Linked DNA regions of Homo sapiens: region 2 is linked to region 1. Evidence: promoter capture Hi-C in human tissues and cell types (Jung and others, 2019). All regions are on one chromosome and are shown on one strand. The core of a region is centred on a gene start or on the middle of the fragment in contact, and the rest is flanking DNA. Distances in the headings are between cores, read along the strand shown. Region 1 holds the start of PCYOX1L (prenylcysteine oxidase 1 like). Region 2 overlaps CARMN (cardiac mesoderm enhancer-associated non-coding RNA).

Evidence for each region. Contacts are between HindIII fragments. The study calls those that stand out against the background at their distance.
Region 2: a contact is called between a fragment that was not itself captured here and the fragment with the promoter of PCYOX1L in region 1, in 1 of the 25 tissues and cell types used here (adrenal gland).

Annotation. Positions count from the first base shown.
Region 1 is chr5:149,355,229-149,360,924 of GRCh38, forward strand. PCYOX1L (prenylcysteine oxidase 1 like) reads left to right here and starts at 2,818. Exons shown (of 6, transcript NM_024028.4): 1 at 2,818-2,928. The coding sequence starts at 2,841. It overlaps GRPEL2-AS1 (GRPEL2 antisense RNA 1), which reads right to left and starts at 2,414. Exons shown (of 2, transcript NR_132366.1): 1 at 2,297-2,414. RefSeq lists an enhancer at 2,578-2,872 and silencers at 2,598-2,647, 2,668-2,827, 2,848-3,057. The HindIII fragment of the contact is 6,206 bases long and covers 779-5,696 here.
Region 2 is chr5:149,412,369-149,418,436 of GRCh38, forward strand. All of the region lies in intron 1 of CARMN (cardiac mesoderm enhancer-associated non-coding RNA), which reads left to right. Among named protein-coding and RNA genes, the nearest start is that of CARMN, 8.6 kb to the left of the region's middle. RefSeq lists enhancers at 4,115-4,284, 4,661-4,830 and a cis regulatory region at 4,746. The HindIII fragment of the contact is 5,140 bases long and covers 2,224-6,068 here.

The DNA of each region.
Region 1 (5,696 bases), core at 1,568-4,067:
TCTCCTAACCAGATTACAGACACTTGGCCTTGTTCTGACCTTCAGCTTCCCCATGTCCTTCCCACCTTGTGACTGCCTGGCCTTGTCTTTACCTCTGCTTCTCAGCTAGCTTCCATATACCTAGACTCCTGGCTGAATGGCCCTCTGTTGGGCCAGCCTTCCCTGGGATTTGGTCTTGCGTTTTCATTATCTTTCCAATACTGTCTGTACACTGTAGCTCCATAAACCATGTGTCCCATATTCCCAGTGCTAGTCAGTGAGTATATTCTTATTCCTATCCACTCAGATGTCCATGCTCTCAAGTTCACTGTAGTTTTAAAACATGGCTCCAGAATTTCTTGACACCTTTGTTGAGTAGGGCCCATGTCCATTCTTGAGTTTCCTTGGAGCTTTGTGATTGCTTGACCAATAGAATACAGTGGAAGTGACACTGCCATTTTCTGGACCCAGATCTTAAGAAACTGGTATCCCCACTTCCTGTCTTGGGATGCTCACCCCTGGAACCTTACCATCGTGCCAAGAGCAAACTGAAGTAGCCTGTGGAATGGAACTGAGGGCCCTGGTTGAGCTTTCAGCTGAGCCAGCACTGTCTTGCCAGCCAGTGAGCCATCTTGAAGGTGGATCCTCCCACACCCAGTGGAGCAGCCCCAAATGATACCACATGGAACAGATGAGCTGATCTCACTGAGTCCTGCCTGAGGTGTAGTGTGAGCAAAACAGATGACTGTTACTTTAAGCCACTACATTTTTTAATGGTTTGTTACACAACAGCAGATAAAATGATACAGTCACCCCACTGCATTCCCAGTCTGGCACCTTTGTGCCACAAGAATTGTGCCTACTTGCTTTTCCCTTATCAGCTCTTTCGAACCTCTCTTACAATGTTGATGAGCGCACACATTGTCAATGGGCTAGTAGGGTTGGAAGGGCTTCCTAACAGAAAAAAACAGCTCTAGATTTAAGAGTTACAAAGGACCCTAAAATTACAAGCAAAGTATAGTCAAGAAGATGAATTTGAACACTAACATGATTTACCCTACAAAAAAATGACAAGAATCAGAATAAGTTCATAAGAGAATTTGGCACATAGTGGTCAATGAGTGCTTGTTTTAAAAACTGTTTAAGGGAGTATCTTGAACCTTTGGAAATGAACTTAAAAGGTGTTGCATCCTGACACAAACATTGCCAAAAAAAAAAGTTTAAGATTATGACAAATGCATGATTATTCATCTACCAGTTTACTAGTAGTAATCCAGTTTGGCCCAAGTAAATTAAGTCTCAGTGCTGAGTTAGAACCCCAGCTATAAGCTCTTTCACCATTCTCTGAATCACTTCAGTTTTTTGTTTTTGTTTTTGTTTGAGTCAGAGTCTCGCTCTGTCACCCACGGTGGAGTGCAGTGGTACAATCTCGGCTCACTGCAACATGTGCCTCCCAGGTTCAAGCGATTCTCCTGCCCCAGCCTCCCGAGTAGCTGGGATTACAGGCGCACACCACCAAGCCCAGCTAATTTTTGCATTTTAGCAGAGATGAGGTTTCACCATGATGGCCGAGCTGGTCTCGAACTCCTGACCTCAAGTGATCTGCCCACCTCGGCCTCCCAAACTGCTGGGATTACAGGCATGAGCCACTGTGCCCGGCCCAGTTTCTTATTTTAGCCATAATCTCACTGAGTAAATATGGATTTCATTTATTTTTATATATTTATTTATTTTTAAAGACAGGGACTCTTGTCACTCAGGCTGGAGTGCAGTGGCACAATCATAGAACACTGTAACCTCAAACTACCGGTCTCAAGCCTCCCACCTCTGCCTCCTGAATAGCTAGGACTACAGGTGTGCACCACCACTCCTGGCGAATTTTTTTTTTTTAAGAGACGGGGTCTCAGAGTCTCATTATGTTGCCCAGGCTGGTCTCAAACTGCTGGCCTAAGCGATCCTCCCGCCTGACCTTCCAAAATGCTGGGATTACAGGCTTGAGCCACCCCCAGCCTCCGGATTTTCTTTATTCTGAAACTCATCCCTAACTTTATTTTCTGCCAGAGGAAGTCTGTTTTTCACAGCGTGATAAACTAGCAAGTCTGAGCTGCTGCTCTTGTCTTCTTAGAGGATGAAAATGGGAGTTTATCCCTCCTTTTCTCCTTTCTGAAAAGAGAGTAGATGAAACCTTCCCCCGCCTTTTGGTTTTTAGGAAGCAGAAAGCAGAGATATTAACTATATAAAAACTGCAAACACATAAATAACAGCAGTATAGAAAGCATAGGGCTTGTGTCAGCATATGAATGAGGTAGCGTCTTACCACCCTGGCCGCATGCTTGGTCAGCAATTTCCAGCACTTGCAGACACTGCAAAAGGCTTCCCTTATCTCATAAGATGGTTACAACCACCTAGAAAGGTGGAGCAGGATTCTTCGTCTGTGTTATAATAGAGGAAACAGACACAGAGAAGATACAGAGCTAATAACGCAGAGGCTGGACATAACCGAGGTCTTCAAAGCTTCACTTTGGTCTGTTTCATCCCTCTGCCGCAGCTGGGCCCTGGTCCTGATGCTGAGGACCCGAAGCGGGCACACCTGCGCCGGGCAAGAATGAACCCAGCCAATGAGGAGCCCGCATGCGGGGGGCGGGGCGGAACGGGGAAGCTGCCAATGAGAGAGCCTACCCCGAGAGAGATGGAGCTAATGAGGGCCTCGTGCTGGAGAGGGACGGCGGCTTGGCCAATGCGGAGCTGGGTCTGGCGCGGCAGGAAGGCGGGACTGCCAGTGGGGCGCCGGGGCGGGGCGGAGAGCCGAGCGCCAACCCGCTAGCGCCTGAATCCGGCGTGCTGCCCGCTCGCCGCCCGCCATGGCCCGCGCAGCCCCGCTGCTCGCCGCGTTGACCGCGCTCCTCGCCGCCGCCGCTGCTGGCGGAGATGCCCCGCCGGGCAAAATCGGTGCGGGAAGGACGCGGTGGGGTTCCCAGCTGGGGAGGGCCGGCGGGTAAAGGGTTCTCAGTTCTCAGCTAGGTGGGGTATAGGAGGGCGGCTGGGTGAGGGAGGGGTCCTCGGAAAAGGAGCTGGGTGGAGGAGAGGCGCCGAAGGGGACGCGGCAGGGAAGGTCCTGATGGGGCCGGGGCATGGCATGTGAAGAGGGCCACCTAGGACGGAAAAGAGGCCTGGGCAGGACTGGCCGCGGATCTCACCGGGAGGTCCAGGGTCGCTGAGCATCTGCCATGGTCCTGGCTGTTGGCTAGGCGCCCGGGTGACAGAGGACAGAGAGGCTGGGCGATGGCATTCACAGAGGTTGGTTGAGGGCTCTCTGTGTAGCAGACGTGGTGCTGTAGTTCCTGCTGGGGTAGAGCCCTCACAGTACAGGGAAGTCCGTGCTGAGCTGAGGAAGTACGGTGCATGCAGAGGAGGGGCGCTTCACCCTGTCTTTGCGGCCCTGGGAGGGCTTCCTGGAAGTAACATCTAAGCCAAACCACCCCCAGGTCGATAGGAGACAGTCCTGGCAGAGACAGAACACTAGGTCCGCTGGAGATTTGCTGACAGAACGGGGAACTTTTAACAACAGTCTTTTTGTTTATTGTGTGTGTGGTTTCCCCAATACTTTATTTTGAAAATGTTCAGATGTACAGCAAGAATTTTATAGTGGTCATCTGTATACCCACCACCTACATTCTGCCATTAACTGCTGCTATACTTGCTGTGTCACATAACTATCACGCACTGTTCTAGACATCCACGAATCCAGCCTACATTTTGATGCATCTCCAAATAAATTGCAGACATCAGGACACCTCACTAAATACGTCATCGTGCATATCATTGACTAGAGTGTCATATGTGTTTACAGTTGCTTTTTTTTTTCCTCCCTCAACAACTGTCATTTTAACTACATGACTCGTGAAGATTTTCAAGTCCCTCACACGTGATATTCCCACAGGCAGAGATCCTGGGCTTCGGGGTGGGAGGACAAAGACTCTATTCCGCTAGGCCACTCTCCATGCACCCCAGTTGGCAGGAGTGCCTGGAACATCTGATAGAAGCATCACAAACTTACAGGGTCCAGTGCAGTGCTAAAGCTTCTTGTGTAGCAGAACCACAGCCCAGGCCATACAGGGTTAAGAAGACTGAAGCATGCCAGAAACCAGTTTGAGACTGAGAGTTTAGTGCTTGCCAAGAAAAGAGAATCCTGAGGCTAGAGTAGCCAGAGAAGCCCTCATGGAGAAGGTGGAGTTTGAGCCAGGCATTGAAGGATGTGGAAGAGTTAGGCAGGCAGTATCCATGAGTGACCATGTGTTCTCTCTCTGTCCTTAGATCGTTTGAATACAGTGTGGCTAGGAGTAAGCAGAGTGTGCTGTGGGAATATGCAGGGCACTCCCCGTTTTCTTAGGAACAGGCAACAGGACAGGACATTTCTCACCATTGGGGAAGGAGCAGGACCTCCACCCAGCAGAATTGCTGCATTGTGGCAACATGGAGCTCTCTGCCTCCTTCCTCCCAGCTGGCCCTTCTGGCCCCATCCAAGAGTCATCCAGAGCAGGACACTTGGCAATGCCTCACTGCCCTTCAGCTTTCTAGATTTTCCTCAGCCCTCTGACGGGAGCCTCTGTTCATCCTTGGTGGTTTGGACTCTACCCACAACAAGAATGCGGATTCCTGTTAGGATGGCTTAATGCTTGTGCTTCTGCAGGACCAAATCTGAGAACCCCCAAGTGGCATCAGGACCCTCTAAACCCACCCATATAGTTCCATATGCTGCCCTTCTCATGCTGGTCTCTTTGCAGAGTGTGCGTGTCCTCTCACTGACAAAGCTGATTGTCCTCCAGCATCTTGCATGAAATCTTATTTCCCCAAGAAGGCTGTGTCCCCACACCCTCTGGGGCAGAATTCACTGCTTCCCCTTCAGGACTCCCTGGAACCCTGTTGCACTTCATCATGGGTTGTCGTTGCTAATTGCGCAGGAGTCTGTCTGCCCATTCCATGCTGGGGTCCTGGGGGACAGAAGCCTGTTTGATTTTTCTTTGTGCCCCAGGACATCTTACTGTAAATTAGAGAATTGGTGTCAGTTGTGTTAAATGAGCTGGTTCACAATGAAGTGGTGTCTTCTGCTTCCTGATCTTGGGCAGCTTCTAGGCCTTAATATCAATTTCTCTGGAAAAATGGGTAATTTGGGACTCTTTGCACATGGAGGGGATGGGAGCACACTGGTTAAAATAAAATCCAAAGCTGTCTTGGAAGTGGCTTTGTAAGTACTGTGAGAGGAAGTGGTTTATTCTTTCAACACAGAAAAAATACTTCATGAACTCTACTGTCCACCAGGATCTGGGGACATAGTGATCATGCACTCTCTCTCTGTCCTTAAATAACTTGACTACAGTACGGCTAAGCAGAGTGTGCTGTGGGAATATGCAGGAGGAACACCTGACTCACCTCAGGTGGGTCAGTCAAGCCAAGTTATAGGTGACATCTGAGGGCTGTTGAAGCCAGTGAGACACAGGGTGATGGCACTCCTATCAAAGGGAACAGCTCGGACAAAGGCCCAGGCATGAGAGAACAAAGCTATGTGCCCACAATAAGAGAAGCCTAGACAGACAAGAAGGTGGCATCTTGGGAGGGTAAAGCAGGAAATGGAATAAGTAAGCAGAGGCCAGATCATAGAGAACCTGGTGCTGTCTGAGGATTGCCTGTGACTTCTGGCAGGAACTGGTACTCTGTGG
Region 2 (6,068 bases), core at 3,544-6,043, 59 kb after region 1:
AAAGCCACCCCACCATGGCTCTTCTGCAAGAACCCCCGGCCAGCCACAAGCCTAAGCCCCCTCCTTAAAAGCTCCTCCTCTGACCTTAGCTGTGCATCAAGGGAGAAAAGAAAGCTCCAGGCCGGGTGCGGTGGCTCACACCTGCAATCCCAGCACTTTGGGAGACCAAGGCTGGCAGATCATTAGGTCAGGAGTTCGAGACCAGCCTGGCCAGCAAGGTGAAACCCCATCTCTACTAAAATTACAAAAAATTAGTCAGGCATGGTGACACGTGCCTGTAGTCCCAGCTACTCTGGAGGCTGAGGCAGGAGAATTGCTTGAACCCAGGAGGCGAAGGTTGCAGTAAACCAAGATCACGCCACTACACTCCAGCCTGGGCGACAGAGCAAGACTCTGTCTCAAAAAGAAAAAAAAAAAGAAAGCTCCAAACTGCTCTGCTGCCACATACTCTACTCCTCCTGTCCCTCCAAGGAGGCAGGGATGGGGGTGGAGTGTCTAGAGGGAGGCTGCCTGCTGGCCTGGGGAGGGATCCACAGAGGCTATGACACCACCCCTGGCTGGGCTACTGGGCTCAGAGGCCCCCGGTCAGCCTGCCCAGAGCCTGCCAGCCACCAGGCATGTGACCCAACAACCCCGATGAGCTGAGCAAGGCAGGGTGAAGGAGAAAGAGGCTGGCTAGGACCAGGCCCTGGCTCTGCAGCCAGCACAACTGGGTAACTGTCCCACTCCTCTGGGGCCTCAGGCCATAATGTTCCCTGGTTTGGGACAGAGGGGACAGTTGAGGTCATTCCATGTGTGATAGTAGACACCTGGATTCTCAGAGAGGGAAAATCTAAGGAGCTGGGGGCGCGCCCTGGATAGACAGAGAAGAAGACGGCATTCCAGGTGGAGAGCTCTGTGTACAAAGGTATGGAGGCAGGATTGCAGAGGCATTTTCAGACAACAGCAGAGAAGCCCAGTTGGCTGGAACCGAGAGTTGGTCTGAAGCTCAGTGAGGCTGGAGGTTGGCGAAGCAGAGAAGGCCTAGAGTGTGCGGTGGCTTTGGCAACAGAAACCAAAGCCTCAGAGCTTGGGAAAAGTTCTCCTTGGTATCTGTCTGTCCCTGGGAGGGGGTGCCTTTCTTTAGCCTATTTGTCCCCCTCCCCAAAATACCATCAGCCAAGAACCCCAGTGCAGGGCAGAGACCTAGGAATTTGGATAATGGGCAACTCTGAGATGTCAGGCAATGGGGAAAGGAGAGCTCAGGTGGGACTAGGAGGGGTAGGAAGCCCGAGGGCTGCAGTCACCATCTTCAGACCACTCCAGAGCTTCCTGGGGAGCAGGAACAGAGGACAGGCCATGAAGCCCAGAAAGGCAGATGGCAGCAGAATACTAGGAAGACACCTCCAATAGTCTGTCCAAAGAGGGTGAGGGGATTAGGAAGTACAGACATATCCTGAGTTACAATTTTCTATTTTAAAATGCTATGAAAGCTATATGCATTTGGTACCCTCCTCAACTTATGACGCAGTTGTGATGGGGTTATAAGGTTACTTCGGATAAACCAACTCTATATTGAAAATATCGCAAGTCAAAAATACACGTTCGGGCCAGGCGCGGTGGCTCACACCTGTCATCCCAGCAGTTTGGGAGGCCGAGGCGAGCAGATCAGGAGTTGAGGAGTTCAGGAGTTCAAGACCAGCCTGGCCAACGTGGCAAATACCCATCTCTACTAAAAAAAAAAAAAAAATTACAAAAATTAGCCGGGCGTACTGGCGCACGCCTGTGATCCCAGCTACTCGGGAGGCTGAGACATGAAAATTGCTTGAACCTGGGAGGTGGAGGTTGCAGTGAACTGAGATTGCACCACTGCACCCCAGCCTGGGCAACAGGGCAAAACTCTGTCTCAAAAAATAAACAGAAAAAGCACATTCAACTTACAATATTTTCCATTGACGATGAGTTTATCAGGAAGTAACTTAAGGAACATCTGTAGTGAGCTCCTCATCACCAGAGGTATGTAAGCTTAGTACAGACACCATAGAGAGAAGCCAAACATCAGAAAAGGTTGGGCATCATGGCCTTTCCTACCACCAGCCTCGGATCTCACATGCCAGCTCTAACTGCTTTAGGACAATCATGAGCTGAGCCTTCCTGCAGCCTGGATGTCAGATTCCCAGCCAGACATGACATCAGTTCTGCCCTGACTTTGCACAAGGGCCTCTTGGACCTCCTACCTCCTACCTCCCACTTCCTTTCCACTGCTGCCTCCTGCCTTCCCAGGGGACACCAGGCCTGACCAAAGAGACTTGGAGCCTGGTTGTGAGATGGAGTTCCCCGGGGAACATTCAGCTGATGGCCTTCTGCCCGGCAGGAATGAGACAAAGGGGGCCAGGGACCCTGGGAGCCCTGTTCACACGCTCCAGAGAGTCTGCGTGGAAATTCCAGGAGGGTCACAGGAAAGCTTCAGATTTAGAACCACAGTGCTTTATTTTTTTCCCCTTTTCTCTTCTGTTCCATCCTTTCCCTCATGGTCGGTGGGGGTGTCATAGAAGTCTGGGAAAGGAAAGCAAGCATCCTCTTGGGCTGAGTCACAGAAAGAGCATGGAGAGACGGAGGGTATGGGGTAGATTGGGAGGCCCACCAGACAGGGCTTGGGGCAGTGGACAGCAGTGTGGGAGAGGATGGAGAGGACCAAGAAGTCAAGGGCATGGCCAAACCGCCTGTGAGGGTCCTGGAGCAGTGGGCAACTACATCGCCTGGGCCAGCAGCCTTCCCTAGATGCTCAAGACCAGAGCTGCCAGAACCTGGGTTCAAGCTGGGGTCAGAGAGTCAGCCCAGGGCTTTCTAGAATAAAGACAGAAGGATCTTGGAAATGGGGCTTCCAGGAATCTCAGGCAATGTGCCCCCACCTCACACTGACTGCAGAGCTCAGTCATACAATATCCATCTCATTCCCTCTGGCGCCCCTGGTAGATGATTAATAAATATTCCTGGTGTTAAATCCCATACTCATTGCATCATAGTCCTTTTAGAGCTGAGGGACCTTAAAGAGCATCAGGGCCTATCTCCTCATGTTATAGATGCAGAAACTGAGGCCCAATGACAGGGAGAGACTTGCCAAAATATGCTGCCAGAGTGACCACATCCTTTGCTTCTTCTCTGCCTTCTAGCCAAAGATGGAGACTATGGTACACTCTTCACAGCCAAGGGCAGGGGACAGAGGAGAGGCGGTGCCCAGGCAGGATGCAACTATCTCCAAGAGATAGTTAGAGGATGGCAGCCTATCTTGAGTTCTGGCTGCTCTGCCCAGGAGGTCCCTTTGAATGGCCAGAGATGGTCTCCAATGCTGTTGGCCTCCTGCAGAAGAAAGAGCCCAAGGCTGGGAATGGAAACCCTTGGTTCTATTCCTGGCTGTGCCCTAACTCTTCATATGACCTTCAACGCGACCTTGAACATGCAGCTTCCTCTGGCCTCAGTGTGTCCAGCGAGAGGCTAGACCCGGCCAGGCCTGGTGGCTCACTCCTATAATCCCAGCACTTTGGGAGGCCAAGGCAGGCGGATCATGAGGTCAGGAGTTTGAGACGAGCCTGACCAACTTGGTGAAACCCCCTCCACTAAAAATACAAAAAATTAGCCAGGTGTGGTGGTGCATGCCTGTAATCCCAGCTACTCAGGAGGCTAAGGCAGGAGAATCACTTGAACCCAGGAGGTGGAGGTTGCAGTGAGCCAAGATCGCGCCACTGCACTCCAGCCTGGGTGACAGAGCAAGACTCTTTCCAAAAAAAAAAGAGTCTAGACCCAACCAGCTGGGCAGTAGGGGATTCCAGCCATGATCTCCTGTCTCCTGCAAGGACTCCTCTCCATCAGTCTCAGTCCATTCTAGATTTTACCTGCCCAGCTCAGCACAGGAAGTGAGCCAGGCACAGAAAGAAAATAGCAGCTCTTGGATTCCCCTTCACCTCATAGCAGCATCTTCTATGCCCAGGCTTTGCTTTCTAGCTATGAAATTCCCAGAGAGACAAAAAGCTAAGAAAACCCTTAAGATCACCCCAGTAAGGAAAGCTGAGACCAGAGAGGGTCCACAGATGGCTCAAGGTCACACAGCAAACTGGGAATGGGCCTTGGGTTTCCTGGCTCCCAACAGTGTTCTTGCCACTGACCACACTGCTCTCCAGAATAACAGGCACATAAGCTGTCCTCGTGTGGACCCCGGCATCGATTTAGCTTGGTGGCTTACACCCCCACACAGGGAGCTATAATCTCTTCCCCTGGCTGGGACTCAGTTTCTTCTTCTATAAAACAGAGACAGCCAGGTGCGGTGGCTCATGCTTGTAATCCCAGCACTTTGGGAGGCCAAGGAGGGCGGATCACCTGAGGTCAGGAGTTCAAGACCAGCCCGGCCAACATGGCGAAACCCTGTCTGTACTAAAATTAGCCAGGCGTGGTGGCAGGCGCCTGTAATGCCAACTACTCAGGAGGCTGAGGCAAGAGAATTGCTAGAACCTGGGAGGCGGAGGTCGCAGTGAGCTGAGATCGCGCCACTGCACTCCAGCCTGGGGGACAAAGTGAGACTCCGTCTCGAAAACAAAACAAAACAAAACAAAATAAAACAGAGACACAGCGTGGACCAAATGTCTCTAGACTTTCTGCCATAACACTAAGGATCTACCAGGACCCCAGTGCTTTCCTGGGAGGCCCATGCCAACACCTACCTCAGCCCTATCTTCCCCAAGGGTAGGGCCACTCAGGCCAGGAAATCCCACTAAGTCTTCCCCCCTCATTCAGCCCTGTCCCACCCCAGACCCTGAGGCTGGACTTCATCCAGAATTACAGGCTCCAGCCTAGCTCCCCCTCTGAGGATCTGGACTTTTTCTTACCATAAAAGGGCAAGCGTGCCTCTCTTGGTCCCTGCTGCCAACCCTGCTAGGGGAAAGACTGAGCTATTTTTAGAAAACTCAAGGGTTTGCTCCTGAACTCAAGAGGGGCGTCTCTGCGCCTGCACCCTGAGAGCCCCCTCCCCATCTTTCTTCCTCCTCCTTCTCCCATCGCTCTCTCCTTTCCCTTTCTCTTCCTCTCTGTCTTGCTGTCAGTCTCACTCCATCCATCTCTCTTCCATTTTCGCTCCCTCTCCTCCCATCTCACATCGCTGTTCTGTCTTCCTTCCCCCTCACTTCTTCCTTCTCCCAAAATCTTTTCATAGTCAGCTTCCCTCCCCCACTTCTCTCCCTCAGATCTCGTTTCTGGTGGTGGAAGAAAGTAACACATCTGCACTCCCACCCCTTCTTAAGCACTATTTACAACATAAATTCCAAACATCCGCCATCTGGTTCTAGGAAGGGCCAAAAGATATTTGGAGAAGGAAGTCATGATTATTCCATCTTCAAAGCAAAAGGAACTTAAAGGCTCTCTTCTCTCCACCTTCCTCCCGAGGCCCCTTTGTTTAGTATTTGGCCGATCAGGATCCCCCAGTGAGCAGAAGAGGTCAGGACATTTGCTGGAGTCCCAGCTGGACCTGTGACTGGCTAAATCACTTTGAGTTCCTTGCTTCTCCTCTCCATGCCTCAGTTTCCTCATCTGAACAATGGGTGCAAGACTAGAGTGCTTCCAGCACTGATGTTCCAAGACTTCAAGTCCTGGTGCAGAAAATCCATCTGGTCCAGGTCACTGGGGCCTACTTTGGGGCTGAGAAATGAAGGGTAGGATGGGGGCAAGGGAGTGGGAGGCAATGAGGGAGTGCCATCCTCATTCCTTGATGCACCAGTTTCTCTCTCGCTCCATGGAGATCTATGCCGGCCATTCACCGGCATTCACACCCACATTCACACCGAGGAATGGGGTGGGGTCAGATTGTCCCTCCGTGTCTGATCTAGAAGGACTCTGGACACTCTAGAGTCCAGTCGTGTCCCCACCACATCATGTAGGTGTGGGCCCTTGAGGCTCAGAGAGGGGAATACCCTTGTCCACAATCACACAGCAAATCTACAGAAAACCGGGTACCTAGCCTGCTGCTCCTCCCACCCAACACATTCCAGAAGAAACCAACATTTGTATTTTCTAGAAAGCATTGCCTAGTCCCAGCGAAGCCC